Linked DNA regions of Homo sapiens: region 1 is linked to region 2. Evidence: promoter capture Hi-C in human tissues and cell types (Jung and others, 2019). All regions are on one chromosome and are shown on one strand. The core of a region is centred on a gene start or on the middle of the fragment in contact, and the rest is flanking DNA. Distances in the headings are between cores, read along the strand shown.

Region 1 (5,860 bases), core at 605-3,104, 110 kb before region 2:
TTCTTAGAATTAAAAATAGGCCCGGCCAGGTGGCTCACGCCTGTAATCCCAGCACTTTGGGAGGCCGAGGCAGTCAAATCACTTGAGGTCAGGAGTTAAGACACCAGCCTGGCCAATATGATAAAACCCTGTCTCTACTAAAAATACAAAAATTAGCCAGGCATGATGGCAGGTGCCTGTAATCCCAGTTACTCAAGGGAGGCTGAGGTGGAAGAATGGCTTGAGCCCAGGAGATGGAGGTTGCAGTGAGCCAAGATCGCACCACTGCACTCCAAACTGGGTGACAGAGTGAGACTCTGTCTCACAAACAAACAGACAGACAAAAAAAGAATTTAAAATAAATCTTTGATGCGTTTCAATTCAGCTTTCCTCCCAATGTCAGAATCTTCACCATTACATTATCCACATTCTTCGAGCACCCAGATAGCAACAGGTAGCTCATTACTCTGAGGGCAGTCTTCTGTTCCATTGTGACATAACTCTAGATGATAAAAATGTTAATCTTCATCAAGAAATGACTTTTACTTCCTAAAATACCAAGTAAGTTTATTCCCCTCCTATAAGACAACTAGCATATATTTTCACATTTCTGCTGTCTGTGTTTAAGTTCAATCAACCCCTTATCACTAGCTTTATTCTTATTTAAACCATTCATGAGAGCATTGTAAGTGTTAAACAATGATGAGATATTTTCAGGCTTATAAAATAATGAAATATAAAATTAATTATCTACATAGATAAATAGAAATTGATGAAAATTTCTATGTATATTATTTTCAGTAACTGTTAATGTCTTCCTATAACAGCAATAAATTTAAATTAAATATTTTTAAATTTATTTCAGATATGAAGATATTATATAAAACTCTACAAAGTAATATGAATTTAAAAAAACTAGCAGCAAACCATATTAACCATATTGTGTGTTTTTAGAGTAAAGCTATAACAAAAGTACAGGGGATTAAGTTGTTTTATTTTAATAGCTGCTTTTACTCTGGGGTGGTTTTAGCAATGGCGCCTTTGGGCAACCCCGCTCACATACACAGTATCCAGCCTGGGTGGTTAATACTAGGGAGCTGTGACTTAAATGGCAGGAAAGGATTCAGATGTAAAATTGTACTTGAATATGCTTGAATAATTTTGCACTTCTTCACTTTTTTCTCTATGAATTATTCAATGGTCATTACTTAAATTTGTATTTTAATGTATGATAAATGATAATATGGGGGGGGAAATAGAGTGAAGTACCCTGACATTCTACAGATATAATATGATATGCTATGAAAAACAAAACAAAAAGAAAATGTGCCATATATTTTCCATGTACCATCTTTATATGATATACAGTGACTTCATTATTAGTGAGTCAAGTTGTTTAAAGGACTACCAAAAGAAGTATTGCTATTTTATGGTTTTTATGGTGTAAATTATTTTTCTGTCTTCTTGAGTCTTATGTCTAAGTCTGTCTTCCTTGTCCAGATGCTGTCATATTTTTCCAGGAAATTATACTGAAAACATATTTAAAAATTTATGCACGATTTCATCAACTTGTTTTTCATTATATTATATTTAGTTCAATTTTGCAACTAACAGACTCTCTATCAGAGTCATTAACCTGTGAACAGTATAAAGTATTTAACATGTAACTATAGATAATTTGATCCGAAACAATAAAAATGAACACTTTTCAAGAATATGGATACCTCTTTTGTCTAATTTTTTTAAAGACCAGATTTTACCAAAGAATCATGTTGTCTTCCTGACAAAAGTCATGCTACATTCCTGTTCTCATGGAAACTATTACATCTAGGATTACAAAGTCAGTGATATATCATTCAGAGAAGTCTTAATATATGCATTTCATTATAGGAAAAGCACAATGAGAAGGATGGTGAATGGAACTTTTCTACTAAGGATAGAATGAGAGAAGAAGTATTACTAACTAGAAAAATGATTTGGCATTAGTGTATTTGTAGTTTTTGTTTGTTTGAAAGACTTCTTAAAATCTGTTTATTGAATAAACCACTTTCACTTGACTTACCCATAGAGACTATTTCAAAATGGAATACTGATGTTTTTTTAAACCTATAATTTCATCTTTCTTTTTTCCTCCACAGAGTTAGACTGGAGTTTAGTGATAGAATAGTAGTAAACAAATAGGAATTGTTTTTTTTTTTGAGACGGAGTCTCGCTCTGTCACCCAGGCTGGAGTGTAGTAGTGCGATCTCAGCTCACTGCAACCTCCGCTTCCCGGGTTCAAGCAATTCTCCTGCCTCAGCCTCCCAAGTAGCTGGGGCTACAAGTGCCCGCCACCATGCCCGGCTAATTTTTTGTATTTTTGGTAGAGATGGGGTTTCACCGTGTTAGCCAGGATGGTCTCGATCTCCTGACCTCATGATCCGCCCCCCCTCGGCCTCCAAAAATACTTGGCCTCCAAAAATACGCCCGGCCAAGAAATTTAAGAAAATATTACTATTTGGTGTGTGATAATTAGTCTATCATTTTTAAAGTACCTATAATTTATATGTAATAGTGTTTGACACTTTTATATATTGACTGGCACAAAGTTCAGGAAAAAAACTTAGATTGAAAATTCCTTGCTAAATCAGCATGATGATTTTCTTCAGTAAGCTGGCCTTCACTAATTGCTTATGTGGTTCATATCATGACATCAGCAAAAACTCTGTACTGAAATACTGCCATAGAATCAGTCCAGGTCATCTGTAAGTACAAGTGTTAGCGATATCTATAGGTAATGGATCCCTAAACAAAATGTATAGGAATAAATGTAATGTGACCACACTAAGAATGGAAAGAAGCTTATTGGTAAACTGTGATTAATTAAGTCAATTTATACTACTATGGTTTAAAATACTTTCATTACTCTCATGATATTCATCATTTTCCATATCACTACATTGGTTATTTTTCTTTACATAGTTTATTTCAATATACTCTTGCTGACAGTTGCTTTCTGCCTTGATAAACTGATTTTCTAAATATATTCCTTCTTTGTAATTTTGTGTAATTTGCATTTTTAAATACGCATTCATTGGAATCCTAAATTGAATTAGACCATATTTACTGAACTATACTATAAATATTTAGTTTGTTTTTATGTTTCTTTATATTTGTATATTTGACCCCATGTGTTGTCTTATCAGGTTATCTCTGTTGATGCTCTTTATCCAACATTGTACTGCTCTGACAGTATTTAAAAATTCACTTGGGCAAACTGTTAACTGGAAGCTGGGTTGTGAACAGAAGCTGGCACTGTGAAAGAAAAGCAGAGCTGGACATAAGTTAAAGCAGTGAAGGCAAATTTTATTCAGGAACTATTGCACTGGGGACAGAGAGACCTCAGTATAGAACGGGGCTGCATTCTGAATACCAGGATAAGTGGGGATTTTGGATAAGTGATGGTCAGTGGGTGGAAAATTACTAGAGAGGAAACCTCGAAGGGATTCTGGCTAAACTGACTTAGCAAAATTCTTGCTGAATGCAGCCAGGGTGATAAGATACTGAATGTGGGGGGGATAAGAAATTTGATTAGATATCAAAGATAAGGGATTTTCGTTAAACTGAACCAGCAGAATTCTTGCCTAATTGAACTAACTAGGCCAAGAACAGAACCCAAGTTGGGGCCTAATCAAAAAGGGATCTCAGAGGAGTATGACCAGAGCGTGGTCCAGGAGAGAATCCTATCATCATCTATAGCCCATTCTGTGACATGAGGAATGAATTGTCTGAACACTTGTTCTTCAAACAATGAAGGAATACTAGTTAAAATGCATGTGACATTCACTCACAGTTCTGTAACCTAATGGCTCTTGATCTTCCAAACTGGTCTCTGTTCTTAAGCCGTTACAAAATCTCTATTTTGATGTCAGGTTCCTTTTCTTTCTGGGGGAAAAAAATAACTCTTCTAAATGATCTGTTACAGAAATAAGTATGTTTATAGAGTCTTATTTAAATGACTTCTCCCTCCCCAAAAAGCAAATTCCTACAGATTGACCTTGTTTGAAATACTTATTCTGTGGAAGATCAAGCTTACAGGTATAACATTGAATTTCCTAAGTGGCTAATCAAAGAAAATTGGAATGAAATATAAATCAAAAACAATAAATTTATTAAAATTGCCAAATTATTTGACAGATAATAGAAAATCCAAAAGCACAAATTTATTTTTAATTGCCAGAAAGTTAAAGAAGATTGATAATAAATTATTAGATCCTTTCTAAGAAACACTGCTTTACTCTATCACATTTTATTTGATAAATACCAGAATTGAAGCTGGGTGCTTCCTTTGTTCTCCTCTTTATCATCAGCAAATTTTTTGAGTCGCCACATTATTAGGCCATGAAAACTTCAATGGGTAACAAACAGAAAAGCTTCCTCCACTTTCAGGAGCAAAGCAAAACAGGAAATAATCTGCAGGAACCGTGTGTCATAGACAAGAGTTTTCTTTTATTTTCACTTTAGGTTAGTAATTCTCCTGGGTAATCAATAATCTCTAAGCAAGAATCAGTCTTTTCTAAAGTGATGGAACTTATATTGATGCATTGCATATAGTGGATTGAAATATCCTTCCAACTTAGGTGATTAATTTGTGTTTTTTCCTTCTTGAATGAAAAAGAATATGAGAAACAAATGAACATGTTATGTTATTTGCAATTTACTTTAAATCAAATATATTAGAATCCATTTACTGTTGCGAATTGGTTATATTTGAAATATCTTTTTATATTATCTGTGAACATTAATGAAAATGCTGGGGTAAATGAAAAAAGATGAAATTTCAAGTCACCAAATATACAACTAGGGAAATTATGTTCATATGCCTTATTCACCTAATGGATAATATAATTTCATTTCTGAAAAGAAACTTTAAAAAGTAATATTAATGTGCTAGTATAAGTCATGAGTTGCTTAATGACAGGAATATGTTCTAAGAAATGTGTCATTAGATGATTTGTCATTGTGTAAACACCATAGGGTGTATTTCTATATACCTACATGGGATAGACCACTACATCTAGGCTAGAGTATATGGGATAGTCTGTTGCTTCTAGGCTACAAACCTGTACAGCATGTTACTATACTGAATAGTGCAGACAACTGTAATACGATGGTAAGTATTTGTGTTTCTAAACATATGTAAGCATAGAAAAGGTACAATAAAAATATAGAATAAAAGGTAAAATGCAGTACACCTATATAGGGCATTTAACTTGAAAGGAGCCTGCAGACTGGAAGTTGCCCTGAGTAAGTGGTGAGTGAGTATGAAGTCCTAGGATATTATTACACTACTGTTGACCTTTTTTTTTTTTTTTTTTTTTTTGAGATGGAGTCTCGCTTTGTAGCCCAGGCTAGAGTACAGTGGCGTGATCTCAGATCACTGCAACCTCTGCCTCCCGGGTTCAAGCAATTCTCCTTGCCTCAGCCTCCTGAGTACCTGAGATTACAGGCGCCCACGACCATGCCCAGCTAACTTTTGTATTTTTTAGTAGAGATGGGATTTCACCACATTGGGCAGGCTGGTCTTGAACTCCTGACCTCAGGTGATCCATCTGCTTTGGCCTCCTAACATGCTAGGATTACAGGCATGAGCCACCATGCCCAGCCACACTACTGTAGAGTTTTTAAAGGCTGTACACTTAGGCTACAGTAAGTTTAATTTTTGAAATTTCTTTAATAATAATTAACCTTAGCTTCATAAATTTTTTACTTAATTTTTTACCTTTTAATATGTGTTATATATTGTATTCTTAAGCAACAAAATATAGCAAGTTCACCTGCTGTTATAAGCATGGTAAATCCCTAAGTGATCAAAATGTTTGATGCTTATCACTCAGAAATA
Region 2 (2,500 bases), core at 1-2,500:
TTTCCCAGTAAAGAAGGTAAAGAAGATATAAAAATGATTCATTCTGCTGTTAGTGTCAGTCTTTTGCTCAACTCCCATTTCCCCCAAGTATTTAGATTTTTTTTTTCTTTAAGAAAATAAATGCCAGCTGGGCATAGTGGCTCATGCCTGTAATCTTAGCACTCTTTGGGAGTCCAAGGTGGGAGGGTCGCTTGAGCCCTGGAGATTGAGGTTGCAGCGAGCTGGGATTATGCCACTGCATTCTAGCCAAACAGACAGAGCGAGATCTTGTCTCAAGATTAAAAAAAAAAAAAAAAAAAAAAAGCCAACCACTTACGTTTACAGAATTAAAATTGCAGCCTGCCGCTGACAACCTGAGAAAAAGAGACAAAGTCAGTGGAATAGCCCTTGTTATTTATGCAAGTCCGCATACAGCTAGCCCTGGAGTTCCTGGAGAGCAAGGAACCTCTGTCCCAAACTTGACTCAGAGCTTCCAAAGTTGGTGTATTTCAACAAGTAAGCATTCCATTGAGCCAACAATTTGGTAGGCTACCAGCGGCTCTGGAGCGCCTGTTGATGATGACAGTTTTTGTGGGGGCATCTCAATATGACACACAATTGACACTGACCAGAAACACAGCGCCAAGGACACTCTAGTCCTAGCCATGAAATGTTATGATTCCAGGTTTTCAGGACAGAGCAGAGTCCACTTCTCATCTCCAGTATCCGTAAAAATTTGTCCAAAATGTAACTAAGAAAACACAATGATATTAGTTACTTCTGCTCCCCGTCACCCTCAACCCCACTGATTACGAGATGGGAACTCACACAAAACTTTGAGACAAAAGAGCAACAAGTTTGCTTTATTGTTTGCTTGTTTTGTTCCGGAGTCGGGGCCGGGAGGGAGTGCAGGAGGAGGGATCCAAGCTTCCAAGCCTCTGCTCCGCTCTCCTTCTATCCAGTTGGTCTTTAGGGCACTGAAGGAAACTCTTCTTCAGAAATAACCTTTTAACTTTTCTTCTGTCAGCTGCCTGCCAATCACGGAGCCAGAGGCTGAGGGGAGGCTTTGAGCCGGTCTGCGAGTCCGGAAGGCAAAGATCGCGAAGCTTGGCGCTCCAGAACGCTCAGGGGGCAGGTGACACAGTCGTGGGTTCCCCGGCGGGCGCTGGCTTGACAGTTTCCTCCCCGCCCACTGGCAGGGGAGCGCCCCGCCGGGCTGCACGCGCGCGCGCGCAGGGGGGCATAAAAGCCGCGGCCGCGCGGAGACGCGGAGCTCGCCCACCGCCCGCCCCAGCAGTGGCTGCACCATGCACGTGAACGGCAAAGTGGCGCTGGTGACCGGCGCGGCTCAGGGCATAGGCAGAGCCTTTGCAGAGGCGCTGCTGCTTAAGGGCGCCAAGGTAAGCCCGGCGCCCAGCCGCGGAAATTTCTCTGCCCACACACTCCGAGACTCGCCCCGCCGCCCGAGGTGCACTGGCGGAGACAGGGAGGCCGCGCCCGGCGTGCCCACTTTGCCACTTCCAAAATTTGCTGAAGCTGAGGCTGTGAGCACACCTCAGAAGTGGCTGGGAGGGAACCCAAACCTAATTGCCAAATTTCAGGTCCAGGAGGGGAGCCTCTTGTGTGTTTATTGTTTGTCCGTCTATTTCGTGAGCTGCGCAGGCCCGCGATTCCTCTCCTCTTGTCTATAGGTAGCGCTGGTGGATTGGAATCTTGAAGCAGGTGTACAGTGTAAAGCTGCCCTGGATGAGCAGTTTGAACCTCAGAAGACTCTGTTCATCCAGTGCGATGTGGCTGACCAGCAACAACTGAGAGGTAAGACAGGGGAATCAATCTGTCAACTGGGAACGTGCTCTCAACAAGCAACAACCTGAAGGCAGCCCGGCCAGGGGGCCCTGGGTGCCGCCTCCGCTGCCTCCTCGAGAGCAGCTACCTTGAAGCTCCAAAAGACAGTTTGGACTGATACGTTTCCTTCTGACAGCCCAATAGCTGTAAAACCGAAAGAAAGGCAAGACTGCTGGAGAAATCCTTTTATTGTAGTCATTTGGCAGCATTAATGTAATCAAAATTCCTTTATGTATTCAAAGACAGTGCTGCTGCAGTAATTATTAAATGATTGAAATTGCAGACAAAACTTGGAAAATTAAAGTAGGTTAAGTAAGGTACTGTTGACAAACAACTTCTCCCAGAAAGCTGGAGTCCAATGACAATCAAATGTGGCAGTGTTTTTCGTTTAAACATATCAGAATACAAGTTCAAGGAGCATCATCACAGAAGTGCTAGATGCTTTTGACCATATGTTTTCTCCGGCTTTTTCCCCAATGAGACAGTACTTTAAAATAATAATAATAGTAATCATAATAAAGTATACAATGTTAGAATTGTAGTAGAAACATCTCTATCAGCCTTTCCTCAATGCTTTCCTGTTTCCGGCTACTCACTTAAAATAGACCAATCTACTTGTGAAGTATCAGGGACAATATTGGCATACACAATAAACAGCTTTGATTATAAAGCTGTT

Evidence for each region. The method cuts DNA at HindIII sites, captures the fragments that hold promoters and counts their contacts. A contact is called where the count stands out against the background at its distance.
Region 1: a contact is called between a fragment that was not itself captured here and the fragment with the promoter of HPGD in region 2, in 3 of the 25 tissues and cell types used here (liver, pancreas and small bowel).

The regions. Positions count from the first base shown.
Region 1 is chr4:174,632,754-174,638,613 of GRCh38, reverse strand. It overlaps GLRA3 (glycine receptor alpha 3), which reads left to right. Exons shown (of 10, transcript NM_006529.4): 10 at 1-1,694. LOC105377551 (a long non-coding RNA gene) reads right to left here. Exons shown (of 4, transcript XR_939494.3): 4 at 3,313-3,903. Among named protein-coding and RNA genes, the nearest start is that of HPGD, 110 kb to the right of the region's middle. The HindIII fragment of the contact is 4,732 bases long and covers 1-4,220 here.
Region 2 is chr4:174,521,238-174,523,737 of GRCh38, reverse strand. HPGD (15-hydroxyprostaglandin dehydrogenase) reads left to right here and starts at 1,250. Exons shown (of 7, transcript NM_000860.6): 1 at 1,250-1,379; 2 at 1,671-1,794. The coding sequence starts at 1,287. It overlaps LOC105377548 (a long non-coding RNA gene), which reads right to left and starts at 1,125. Exons shown (of 7, transcript XR_007058492.1): 1 at 609-1,125; 2 at 317-353. The HindIII fragment of the contact is 5,489 bases long and covers 1-2,500 here.